Regions from separate parts of the Homo sapiens genome. Here all the other regions are linked to region 1. Evidence: promoter capture Hi-C in human tissues and cell types (Jung and others, 2019). All regions are on one chromosome and are shown on one strand. Each heading gives the region's core, a stretch centred on a gene start or on the middle of the fragment in contact. The rest is flanking DNA. Distances are from core to core; before and after follow the strand shown. Region 1 holds the start of PRR5-ARHGAP8 (PRR5-ARHGAP8 readthrough). Region 2 has its middle 34 kb from the start of RTL6. Region 3 overlaps PRR5-ARHGAP8 (PRR5-ARHGAP8 readthrough).

Region 1 (4,057 bases), core at 967-3,466:
GACTCAGAGCCCACTCCAGGGTCACCCAAGGTTGGGTGAGGGCAGTGTCTAAGCCAGCAACCAGCCAGTGCCCCCACCTGTCTGGGGACCCGCAGCAGGACGCCCCACCTCGGGGGTGGGAGGGAGCTCACCAAGTGGCTGTCAGTGGGTGCTCAGGAACTGACTGATTCCTGTGGAGCCCTCCAAATGCCATCCCTACAGGGACACCCCGACACTGGTCCACTGCGTGAGTCTGGGGTTGAGCTGTGAGGTACAGAGGACTTACTATGTGCTAAGCACTGTGTTGAGGGCTTTATTTTGCATGTTCAAATTTCATCCCTACAACAGCCCCATGAGGTGGGCACTGTTATCTGCCCGTTTTATGGATAAGGAAATTGAGGACCTGACTTGCTCAAGACCACAGAGTAGGGAAGAGGCAGAGTTGGGATTTGAAATAAGTCTATTTAACTCTTTCCTCTAAATCACGGCAGAGATTCAAGGACAGAGAGATGGCTTTCATCTCAATACTGGAGGAGAACACTGCTCTTCTTTTTTTTTGAGATAGGGTCTTGCTCTGTCACCGAGGCTGGAGTGCAGTGGTGGCATCATGGCTCATGGCAGCCTCGACTTCCCTGGCTCAAGTAATCCTCCCATCTTGGCCTCCCAAAGTGCTAGGATTACAGGTGTGAGCCGCCGTGCCTGGTGGAGAACACAGCTCTTAAGACACTGTGCAGTCGTTGGGTCAGGGAGATTTCCCAACAGGAGTCCTTCCTTCACTGTTCCCACACCAGCCCTCCCCACAGGGAGGAATGCGAATACCCACTGACGGAGAGGGAAACGGAGGCAGGCATGTGACAGCCCTCTAGCAGTTTGCAACTCAGAGACAGAAGAGACCACGTTTGAAGAGGGTCTCGCTGGCAGCCCTGAGCCCACCATGACGCTCACAATGCATTCAATGAACTGAAAATAACGTGTGTCCAAGTGACAGCCGGGTTCCCGGTGGCCAAGACCACAGCCGGTGGAGCATCTGGCAAGATTTTACTGCCAGGTGTGGGCGCGAGAGGGGCAACGTCCACAGCCTCCCCCGAACAGTGTCCACAGCCTCCCCCGAACAGTGTCCACTGCCTCCCGCGAACAGCCTGCCTCACTTTCTCCTGCCTCTCATTTTCCTAGGGAGCAGAGACGCTGGGGAGTTCCACTAAATAAACCGTCTCTTTTCCAGATCCCGGACTTGCTCCTCAAACAAAGCTGGGAGAAGGGGCTTCCCAGGCCCCTGCTTGTCTGGGAATGACCCCTGGAGGAGAGTCCTCTAAAGAATGCCTCGCAGCTGCCGCACCCCCTGCTGACAGCTGGAGGACAGGGGGCCTCTCAAGGGAAAGCCGAAGGGAGCTTAAAGAGACACAGGAAGCCTGCGCGACCCACCCACTGAGCCCCGAGGCTCCCGTGCTCAGCCGCAAAATGGGAAAAATACTTCCTGCTCCGTTAGCCTCCCAGGTTGTCACGAGCACCGCAGTGGAGACGTGGAAAGACCCCGGGTAGGAGGCGGGCACGCGGCTTCCCGGCCCACCCCGCCGCCCACCCGCCGGGCGCTTCTGGGCCAGCCCCGGGCGCTGGCGGGCCTCGCTCCCTTCCCTGGGTTCTGGAACCACGCTGCACTGAACTTTCCTCCAGGCCCGCACCACTCCGGCGGGGCAAGTTCTTTGCAAACTGTGAAGCGCCGCGCCGCCTTCGGCAGCGTTCCTGGCTCGGGGCGGCCCCTAGCCCGCGGACGGCTCAGGGGTCCCCTCCCCCGGCTCCAGGGCCTCCGGGTGGCCGGGAGGGCGCGGCCTTACCTGTTCCAGGTGGCGTTGGCGCAGGCCCGGCGCTGCTGCGTGCCCCGCTCGTCCGCGGCGGCGGCCGGCTCTCTCTTGCCCAGGTCACTGAGGCTGGGCGAACTCATGAACTTCAACCTGCGGAGAGTCCTCATGGTGACCCGGGCCGCCTGCGCCGCGCCCACGCGCGCCCCACGCCGCGCCCTGCGCCACGCCGCACCAAGGGCCCCGGGCCGGCGATGCGCCCTCTACGCGGAAACTCCGGCGAGAGCAGGAAGCCGAGCGGTCCTGCGGGGTCCCGCCCCGGCCCCGCGCCTCCGTCTCGGGTCCCGCGCCGGCCGCCCCGCCGGGTTAATCATTGCACGGAGAGGCTCAGCGTGGAGCGCCAGGCGCGCGGCCAGCACAGACCCGGCGCAAACGGAGGCCGGGGGCGGACCCGGGGGCGGGCCCAGGGGCGGGTCTCGGCGCCCCGGGGGGCGGGGCGGGGAAGGGGGCGGGGGCATCGCGGGCGGGGCGGGGCCTCAGGCGAGGGGGCGTGTGCAAGAGGCGGAGCCGGCGTCTCCGCGGCCGCAGCTGCCACGACGCCTCGCTGGGTCTGCCCTCTGAGGACGTGCTCACCCTCCTCCCCTCTTCCGAGGGCCCCACGTGCCCACAGGAAACCAACACGCACAGGACGCAGGGCCCAAGCCCAAGCGCCCGCCCCCCGCCCAGCACTGCGGTCGCGCCCACACGATGTCCTTCGACCCCGGCCCCGGAGGTCTCCCTCCACAGCCCTCCTCGCAAAGGCTGTGCCACAGAGGTGCCTCCGTACCCCTCACCTGAACACAGGCTCCCCCACCCAGTTCTCATGAGGACTTTGGGTAGAGGCCTTCAGTCCCCTCCAGGCACCTTGGCCCAAGAACCCACTCCACCCGGGCTCAGCCTAGACCCCCTTGGACAGGGACTTCAGCATTGCCTGGCTGCCTGGAGGATTTGCTGGAGTGAGGGCTTGAAGAAGTAGAGGGTTTGCTCCTTATCTCCCACCCCCAGGTCTCTTGGATGGTAAAACCAAGCAGTTTCCCAAGTCCCTGTGGTGGGGGCAGAGTGATCCCAGTGAAGGCAGGGCACAGCCGGTGCTTCCTGCCTGCTTCGCAGAGCACTTTTAGATGTCTGATTTCACATGAACTAACATGAACTACTTCCGTGAGGTAGAGATTATTCTTCTCCCCATTTTCCAGTTGAGGACATTGAGGCTCACAGAGTGAAATAACTTGCCCAACATTGTGCCAACATTGTGCAATCAACAAATGGTAGAGTTGGGCTTCACCACAGGGAGCGTCCAGCCCCTTGAACAGGGCCCTTCCCAGTCCCCAGCTTCTGGGATTCCCACAAGGCTCACCTGACCCCTCCATCAGATGGGGGGTGACAGCCACAGCTCCAGGAGCTGGGAGGGCCCCATATAAAATGTAAGAGAGAGGTGATGGCTCATGCCTGTAATCCCAGCACTTTGGGAGGCCGAGGTGGGAGGATCACCTGAGGTCAGGAGTTCAAGACCAGCCCGGCCAACATGGAGAAACCCCATCTCTATTAAAAATACAAAATTAGCTGGGCGTGGTGGTGCATGCCCGTAATCCCAGCTACTCAGGAGGCTGAGACAGGAGAATCGCTTGAACCTGGGAGGCAGAGGTTGCAGAGAGCTGAGATCTCGCCACTGCACTCCAGCCTGGGCAACAACAGCAAAACTCCGTCTCAAAAATCATCATCATCATAATAAAATAAAATAAAAAGTAAGAGAGCCTCATGAAGAGTCTTTGTTTAGTGCAAATCAACCAGTGTCTCCTGAGTACCTCCTGTGTTCCAGACATAAATACCATCGTCTTTGGGAGACAGAGACATAAACAGACAAACTTGCTCATCAGTAAAGCGGGATGGAACGGTTCATCTCACAGGCAGCTTGGGGCCCACAGGCAGCAACAGGTGCTTTATAAACTAACTGTCAAGTGCTGTACACGTTTTCTTTTCTTTTTGAGACAGAGTCTCACTTTTTGGCCCAGGTTGAATGCAGTGGCACCACTGTGGTCACTGCAGCCTCTACCTCCTGGGTTCAAGCAACCCTCCCACGTTAGCCTCCTGAATAGCTGGGACTACAAGGCATGTGCCACCATGCCTGGCTGATTTTTTGCGTGTGTGATGGCGTTTCGCTCTTGTCGCCTGTGGAGTGCAATGGCGCAATCATGGCTCACTGCTAACCTCTGCCTCCCAGGTTCAAGTGATTCTCCTGCCTCAAT
Region 2 (4,057 bases), core at 505-3,004, 170 kb after region 1:
CTAGAGGACGTGGGGACATTTGACTCATGCGTTTATCTTTTTTTTTTTTTTTTGAGACAAGATCTCACTCTGTTACCCAGGCTGGAGGGCAGTGGCACGATCTCAGCTCACTGTAGCCTCAACCTCCTGGGCTACGGCGATCCTCCTGCCTCAGCCTCCTGTGTAGCTGGGACCATACCCGCATGCCACCGCAGCTGGCTAATTTTAAAACTTTTTTTGTAGACACAAGGTCTCACTTTGTTGTCCAGGCTGGTCTGGAACTCCTAGGCTCAAGCCGCAGCCTCCCAAAGTACTGGGACTACAGGCGTGAGCCACCACATGCAGCCATGTATCTTTTAAAAATATTTATTATTTATTTTTTAATTTTTCATGCCCCTTGCTGCAGAGTTGTGTATATGTATCTGCGTTTATGGACATATTTCTTCTAAAACATATTGAAGTATAATATGTATCTAGAAAAGTGCACCAATTCTGAGTGTGTAGCTGGGTGAATTGTCAATGGTTACAGACCCATGTATCCAGCACCCAGATCTGGATACAATGTTATCAGCACCTCAAAAACTGCCTCCTGGCATGGTGGCTCATGCCTGTAGTCCCAGTACTTTGGGAGGTCGAGGAGTGGGGATTGCTTGAGCCCAGGAGTTCGAGACCAGCCTGGGCAACCAAGTGAGACCCTTGTCTCTACAAAAAAATACCAAAAAAAACTAGCCAGGGGTGGTGGCGCACACCTGTAGTCCCAGCTACTCGGGAGGCTGAGGTGGGAAGTTCACTTGAGCCTGGGAGATGGAGGCTGCAGTGAGCTAAGATCACGCCACTGAACTCCAGCCTGGGTGACAGAGTGAGACCCTGTCTCTGAAACCAAAACCAACACCAAAACCGAACAATCCAAAACAAACAAAAAACCTCCTCCACGCCCCTTCTAGTCTCTGCTCCTCCCTGCAATAATCATAGCCTCTGTGCCATAGATGAAATAAATGCTGGCAGGATTGGAAACCGGCTCAGCCATTTTGAAAACCACTTGGCAGTATCTACTAAGCTGAACCTGAGCCCCGCAGTGACCCGGCCATCCTGCTCCGAAGGATGTTTGCAGAGGGCGGAAATGCACACAGCTGCTCACCGCAGGTGCAGAGACACCCACTGGGGTGTTCCTGACCGTTTCAGACTAGAAGTCCACCCGTACGCCCATCACAGTGGGTGGAGAGGTGCACTTGGGAGAGCCACACAATGGAATACTTCACAATAACAAGAACGCAGGTGCCACAGACAAAGGCAGCAGCGACGATGACTCTCTCAGTGTTGAGTGGAAAACATCAGACAGAAAAGATGACCCATTCCAAGATGACATTTATATGTGAAACCAGAACAGACAAAACAACCCAACAGGGCTATGTGTGGGAGGATATTTATTTTGCTTCTTTTCACTTTCCTTGTCTTCCCTTCTCTTTCTCCCTCTCTTCTCTCCCTCCTTCCTTTTCTTCCTTCCTTCCAAATTTGGGATCCCTATCCCTCTCTGTAAACACACACACACAGCTTCTTCTCTACATCAAGAAATAATAGGCTGGGCGCAGTGGCTCACGCCTGTAATCTCAGCACTTTGGGAGGCCGAGGCAGGGGGATCACAAGGTCAAGAGATCGAGACCATCCTGGCCAACATGGTGAAACCCCGTCTCTACTAAAAATACAAAAATTAGCTGGGCGTGGTGGTGTGCACCTGTGGACCCAGCTACTCGGGAGGCTGAGGCAGGACAATTGCTTGAACCTGGGAGGTGGAGGTTGCCAGGAGCCAAGATCACACCACTGCACTCCAGCCTGGTGACAGAGCAAGACTCTGTCTCAATAAAACAACAACAACAACAAAAAACCCTTTAAAATAATGGCCACCACGGATGCATGAAGGCTTGTAAGCATTTTATATGCTGATGCTTTGGAAAGTCCATGACCTTTTTCAGAAATCATCATGAGTTCAAGGTCGACATCAGGTACAGGGGCTCTGAGGCATTTGCTTAGCTGGAATGAGGGGGTGCTCGTGGCCGTGGTCACATGACAGGTGGTGTGTGCTGCACTGGTCAGGGGGTGTGCTCAGGGGAGAGGGGTATGGGACACCATCTACAGTGGCTGTTCAGCAAAAGGAAAGGTTGAGGACTGACCATTTAACCTGCTTGACTGTGTCTTTTTAAGGGCTGCAGACATTCCGTTATCTGGGTTGTTAACGGCTTTACGGAGCCAAATCTCTGCCACCAGTGTGAATAAACATCTGGGTGCCAGAGCCAAGCTGCACAGGTTCAGATCTGGGCTCTGCCAGGCACTGGTGATTCATCAGAGACAACTTATTTATCTCTCTCTCTCTCTTTTTTTTTTTTATGAGACGGAATCTTGTTCTTGTTGCCCAGGCTGAAGTGCAGTAGCGCAATCTCAGCTCACTGCAACCTCCACCTCCCAGGTTCGAGCGAGTCTCCTGTCTCAGCCTCCCGTGTAGCTGGGATTACAGGTGCATGCCACCACACCTGGCTAATTTTTGTATTTTTAGTAGAGACGGGGTTTCGCCATGTTGGCCAGGCTGGTCTCGAACTCCTGACCTCAGGTGATCCACCCGCCTCGGCCTCCCAAAGTTCTGGGATTACAGCCATGAGCCACTGTGCCCAGCAACTTATTTACTTCTTGGGGCCTCCGTTTCCTTATCTGTAAAATAAGTTTGAAAACTGCGCTGACCACATACAGTTGCTGTAAGAATTAAATGAGTTATTTATTTATTTTTATTTATTTTTTTGTTGAGATGGAGTCTCGCTCTGTCACCCAGGCTGGAGTGCAATGGTGCGATCTCGGCTCACTGCAAGCTCTGCCTCCTTGGTTCACGCCATTCTCCTGCCTCAGCCTCCCGAGTAGCTGGGACTACAGGAGCCTGCCACCACGCCCGGCTAATTTTTTTGTATTTTTAGTAGAGACGGGGTTTCACCATGTTAGCCAGGGTGGTCTTGATCTCCTGACCTCGTGATCTGCCCGCCTTGGCCTCCCAAAGTGCTGGGATTATAGGCGTGAGCCACCACAGTCGGCCATGAGTTATTATTTGTAAAGCTCTTGGTTAAGTGCCTGCATGGAACACAGTAAGCATTTAACAATGTTTTTCTACTTTTGCTCAGTTGTTTTAAAATGTCCCCCATCGTATTAGTCAGCTTTGGCTGTAATAATGCTGCATAACAAACATTCCCTGTCTCTCAGTGGCTTCCAATGACAAGCACTGTGCTCGATTTTGGGCTGTGATTGGGTTTAGGCCTGTTCCACCTGTTTCTGCCCCCCTCTCCCCAAAACCCAGGAAGAAGGAGTGGTGTCAGCTCAGACATCTCTTCTGATGGTGGGGGGCAGGAAAGCCAGAGGGGGAGTGGAACCCTGGCATGCCTCAAAGAGCCATGCCGTCCCTTCTGCCCACATCCCAGCGTTCCAAGCAGGTCTCATGACCCAGCCTTGAGGCAAGGAAGCTCTGAAAGCGACACTACCCACAGGGACTGTGGCAGGGCTGAGGGCAGGGAAGGAAGATTGTGGAAAGAAAATGGAGTTTCCACCCACTCCATGCAACCCTGGTGATGCACCCTCAGAGGGAGGGAGATGTTTGTGGCCTCATCTGATGAAATTCATGGCAAGGTAATGCCTGATGAATGATCTGAGCATTTTCTCATTGCTTCATAAAATGTTACCAAGTTGTCCTCCAGAAAGGATGACCAAGTTATCTTTCTACCAGCGGCATGCGAGACTGACCTCCAGCACCTGGCCAATACGATCAAGCATTTTTTTTCACCTTTGCTCAGTCGAAGGTAAAAACAAGTATTATGATGGTTGTTATGACAGCATAACGTTGTATTATCAGCTTGGATTTTTATGGCATGTGAAGTCAGAATGACCTCAGCTAAGTGTGATCCTAGCTTCCTGTAGCCTCTCACCCTCCATATTGTGCTGCAAGCAGATGAGCCTTCCTGTTTAACTCAGGCCTTGGCTGTATGATCCGTTCAGGCCAATGGAACATGCTGGGCCAAGGAGAGCTTTAAATGTGCTCTGGTGGTTTGCT
Region 3 (4,057 bases), core at 480-2,979, 130 kb before region 1:
CTAATGGGGTAGAGGTTCTGGCAAGTCAGATTGGCACACACGGCTCAGAACCAGAGCCTATGGGAGGCCAGTGTCCCACCCTGGAGGCCGATCGCAAAGAGAAGGATTGTATAGTCTCCAGACAGCCACATGGTACAGGAGACCGAAGAAGAGCATATCCTACGCACACAGGAAAAAAGAGACTAGAAAGACAGATACTTACCAGTTCTTTTCTGACAAAAGTGAACACTGGCTCAGTTAACACCTTGGCTCTGGGAGATAAGGAGAAACTAAAAGGGCCACATGGTCCTGCTTGCTAATAAGATCACCATCAGATCAAGTTTCTTCCAGTGGCAAAGAAGGAGTGTTAGCACGGGGTGGAAGACAACACCCAAAAGTTGTATTCTCTGAAGAGTTTGCAAGTCCCCAATCCTTCTTTTTCTTGAGACTGATTCTCACTCTGTTGCCATGCTGGAGTGCAGTGGCGCGATCTTGGCTCACTGCAACCTCCGCCTCCCCGGTTCAAGTGATTCTCCTGCCTCAGCCTCCTGAGTAGCTGGGCCTATAGGCGCCTGCAACCATGCCCGGCTAATTTTTTTTGTACTTTTAGTAGAGACGGGGTTTCACCATGTTGGCCAGGATGGTCTCAGTGTCTCGATCTCGTGATCCGCCCACCTCGGCCTCCCAAAGTGCTGAGACTACAGGCTTCAGCCACCACGCCTGGCTCCACAATCCTTCTTAATTAGAACTAGATGGTTATAAATTAAGATATAAATTCTAATCCCTAAGGCAACAATTGAGAAAATACTTTAAATATATATATATATATATAGCAAAAGAAACAAAAAATTGAAACAGTACACTAGAAAGTATGTATTTAACACAAAAGAAGGTATTAATGAAGACATAAAGGAACAAAAAAGACATATAGAAAACAAATAGCAAAATGGCAGATGTAACTCCAGTAATCACACTAAATGTAAATGGATTAAATAATCTAATAAAGAAGGTGGAATGGGGAAAAACATGACCTAATTATATGCTGTCTGCAAGAGACACAATTTAGATTCAAAGACACAAATAGGTTGAAAGTAAAGAGATGAACAAAGATACACCATGCAAACAGTAACTAAAAAGAGCTATAATGGCTATATTAATATCCGACAAAATAGACTTTAACACAAAAATTGTTACTAGTGGCAAGGAAGGACATTTTTTTTATCATCATGCAAGGATTCATAAGAAAGTAAGAATCATAAAAATGTATGCACCTAACAATACAGCCCCTAAACATGTGGAGCCAAAACAGACATAATTGAAGGGAGAAATAAATAATTTTAAAATGATACTGGAGACTTCAATCCCCCACTTTCAATAATAAATAGAACAACTAGGCAGAAATTGACAGAGAAACAGAAGACTGAAAAATACTAAAAACCAAGTAGACTTAATTGACATTTATAGAGCACTCCACCCAACAATAATAGAATGTACACTCTTCTCATGTGTCCGTTGAATATTCTCCAGGCTAGACCATATGTTATACCACATAACAAGCCTCCATACATCTGAAAGAAGTTAAATCATACAAAGTAAGTTATCTAATTATAATAAAATAAAATTAAAAATCAAAAACAGATATGTGAAAATTTAACAACAGACTCCTAGAAATCAATGAATCAAAGAAAAAAATTACAAGATAAATTAGAAAATACTTTAAGATTAATTAAAATCATGGAAATAATACACTAACAGATACATCTATTGCAGGACTTAGTAATTTATAGCCATAGATGCTTACATTGCAAAAAGCAAGATTCTAAAATGATAAACATTCCACCTTAAAAAACTGGAAAAAGAAAATGAACTAAATCTGACACAGGCAGAAGGAAGAAAATAATAAAGACTGGAGTAGAAATAAATAGAAAATAGGAAAATAACAGAGAACATCATCAAAACCAAAAGTTGACTCCTTGAAAAGATCAACAAATTGACAAGCTTTTAGCTAGACTGACCAAGAAAAAAAGGGTGAAGATTCAAATTACTAAAATCAGGAATGGAAGAGGAAACATTACTAGTGACATTATACAAATAAAAGGATTATGAAGTACTATGAACAATTACATGCCAACTAATTAGAAAACCTAGACGAAATGAACAAATTCCTGGAAAGACACAAACAATCAAAATGGACTCAAGAAGAAATATAAAATCTGAATAAATATAACAAGCAAAGAGGTTACATTAGTAATTTTAAAACTTCCCACAAAGTAAAGCCTAAGATCAGATGGCTTCAGTGGTGAATTCTGTAAAATGTTTAACAAATTAACTCTAATATGGTACAAATTCTTCCAAAAAATAGAAGAGGAGGAAACACTTCCCAACTCATTCTGAGGCCAGTATCACCAAAACCAGACAAGGATATCATAAGACAAGAAAATGACAAACTAATACCTCTTATAAATATAAATACAAAATCCTCAACAAAATACAAGCAAAGCAAATCCAGCAATATATGAAAAAGATTATACACCATGAACACAAATGATTTATCCCAGGAATACAAGGTTTATTCAACATGTAAAAATCAATCAATATAATACACCATATCAACAGTATAAAGGACAAAAGCCATGTGATTATCTCAATGGCGATGAAAAGCATTTCACAAAACCTAACACCTTTACATGAACAAACCAACCAACCAACCAACCAACCACTCAACAAACTAGAAATAGAAATGATGTTCCCAGCCTGGGCAACATAGTGAGACCCTGTCTCTACTAAACACATTTAAAAATTAACCAGGCATGGTAGTATATACCTATAGTACCAGCTACTTGGGAAGCTGAGACAGGAGGATCACTGGAGCCCAGGAATCTGAGGTTGCACTGATCTATAATTGCACCACTGTGCTCCAACCTACGCAACAGAGGGAGACTCTATCTCAAAAAAAAAAAAAAAAAAGAAAAGAAAAGAAAAGAAAAAAGATGGTTCTTAACCTGATAAAGGGCATCTATGAAATGCACACAGCTAACATTATGCTTAGTAGTGAAGGACTGTTGATTCTTTTGTGTGTGTGTGTGTGTGTGTGTTTTTAATAGACACAGGGTCTTGCTATGTTGTCCAGGCTAGTCTTGAACTCCCGGCCTCAAGTGATCCTCCCACCTCAATCTCCCAAATAGCTGAGAATATAGGTACATGCTGCTTAGCCCAGCTTAACTGCTGATTCTTAAGATCAGGAGTAAGACAACCATGTCTGCTCTTATCATTTTTATTCAACAATGTATTGGAGGTTACAGTCAGGCATAATCAGGCAATAAAAGGCAATAGGTTGAAAAGGAAGAAGTAAAGCCATCTCTATTTGCAGATGACATGATCCTGGATATAGAAAATTCTAAAAAATCCACACACAAAAATATTAGAACTAATAAACAAGTTCAGTAGGGTTGCATGATACAAGATCAACATATTTAAAAAATGTATTTCTAGAACCTAGCAATCAGTAACAAAAAGATAGATTAAAAATTACATTGACAACCGGGTGTGGTGGCTCATGCCTATAATCTGAGCACTTTGGGAGGCTGATGCAGGCAGATCACCAGAGGTCAGGAGTTTGAGACCAGCCTGGCCAACATGGTGAAACACCATCTCTACCAAAAATACAAAATTAGCCAGGCGTGGTAGCACACACCTGTAGTCCCAGCTACTTGGGAGGCTGAGGCAGGAGAATCACTTGAACCCAGGAGGCAGAGGTTGTAGTGCGCCAAGATTGCACCACTGCACTCCAGCCTAGGCAACAGGGCAAGACTCTGTCTTTAAAAAAAAAAAAAAAAAAAAATTACATTGACAATAGCATCACAAATTAAAAAAAAAAAATTTAACAAAAAAGTTCAAAAAACTGGTACAGTGAAAACCATAAAATACCACTGAAAAAAAGTTAAAAGACCCAAATAAATGGAAAGACATCCCATGTTCATGGATTGGAAGACTACTATTTTCAAGATGGCAATACCCTCAAAATTGGTCTACACACCCAGGACAAGCCCTATTGAAATCCCAGCTGCCTTTTACAGAA

What was found. The method cuts DNA at HindIII sites, captures the fragments that hold promoters and counts their contacts. A contact is called where the count stands out against the background at its distance.
Region 2: a contact is called between a fragment that was not itself captured here and the fragment with the promoter of PRR5-ARHGAP8 in region 1, in 2 of the 25 tissues and cell types used here (IMR-90 fibroblasts and lymphoblastoid cells).
Region 3: a contact is called between a fragment that was not itself captured here and the fragment with the promoter of PRR5-ARHGAP8 in region 1, in 1 of the 25 tissues and cell types used here (aorta).

Annotation. Positions count from the first base shown.
Region 1 is chr22:44,700,363-44,704,419 of GRCh38, reverse strand. PRR5-ARHGAP8 (PRR5-ARHGAP8 readthrough) reads right to left here and starts at 2,216. Exons shown (of 15, transcript NM_181334.6): 1 at 1,812-2,216. The coding sequence starts at 1,945. It overlaps PRR5 (proline rich 5), which reads right to left and starts at 2,216. Exons shown (of 8, transcript NM_181333.4): 1 at 1,812-2,216. The coding sequence starts at 1,945. RefSeq lists a silencer at 1,933-2,342. The HindIII fragment of the contact is 17,168 bases long and covers 1-4,057 here.
Region 2 is chr22:44,529,899-44,533,955 of GRCh38, reverse strand. No RefSeq gene overlaps it. Among named protein-coding and RNA genes, the nearest start is that of RTL6, 34 kb to the right of the region's middle. The HindIII fragment of the contact is 8,689 bases long and covers 1-4,057 here.
Region 3 is chr22:44,831,986-44,836,042 of GRCh38, reverse strand. All of the region lies in intron 10 of PRR5-ARHGAP8 (PRR5-ARHGAP8 readthrough), which reads right to left. All of the region lies in intron 7 of ARHGAP8 (Rho GTPase activating protein 8), which reads right to left. Among named protein-coding and RNA genes, the nearest start is that of ARHGAP8, 81 kb to the right of the region's middle. The HindIII fragment of the contact is 4,769 bases long and covers 1-4,057 here.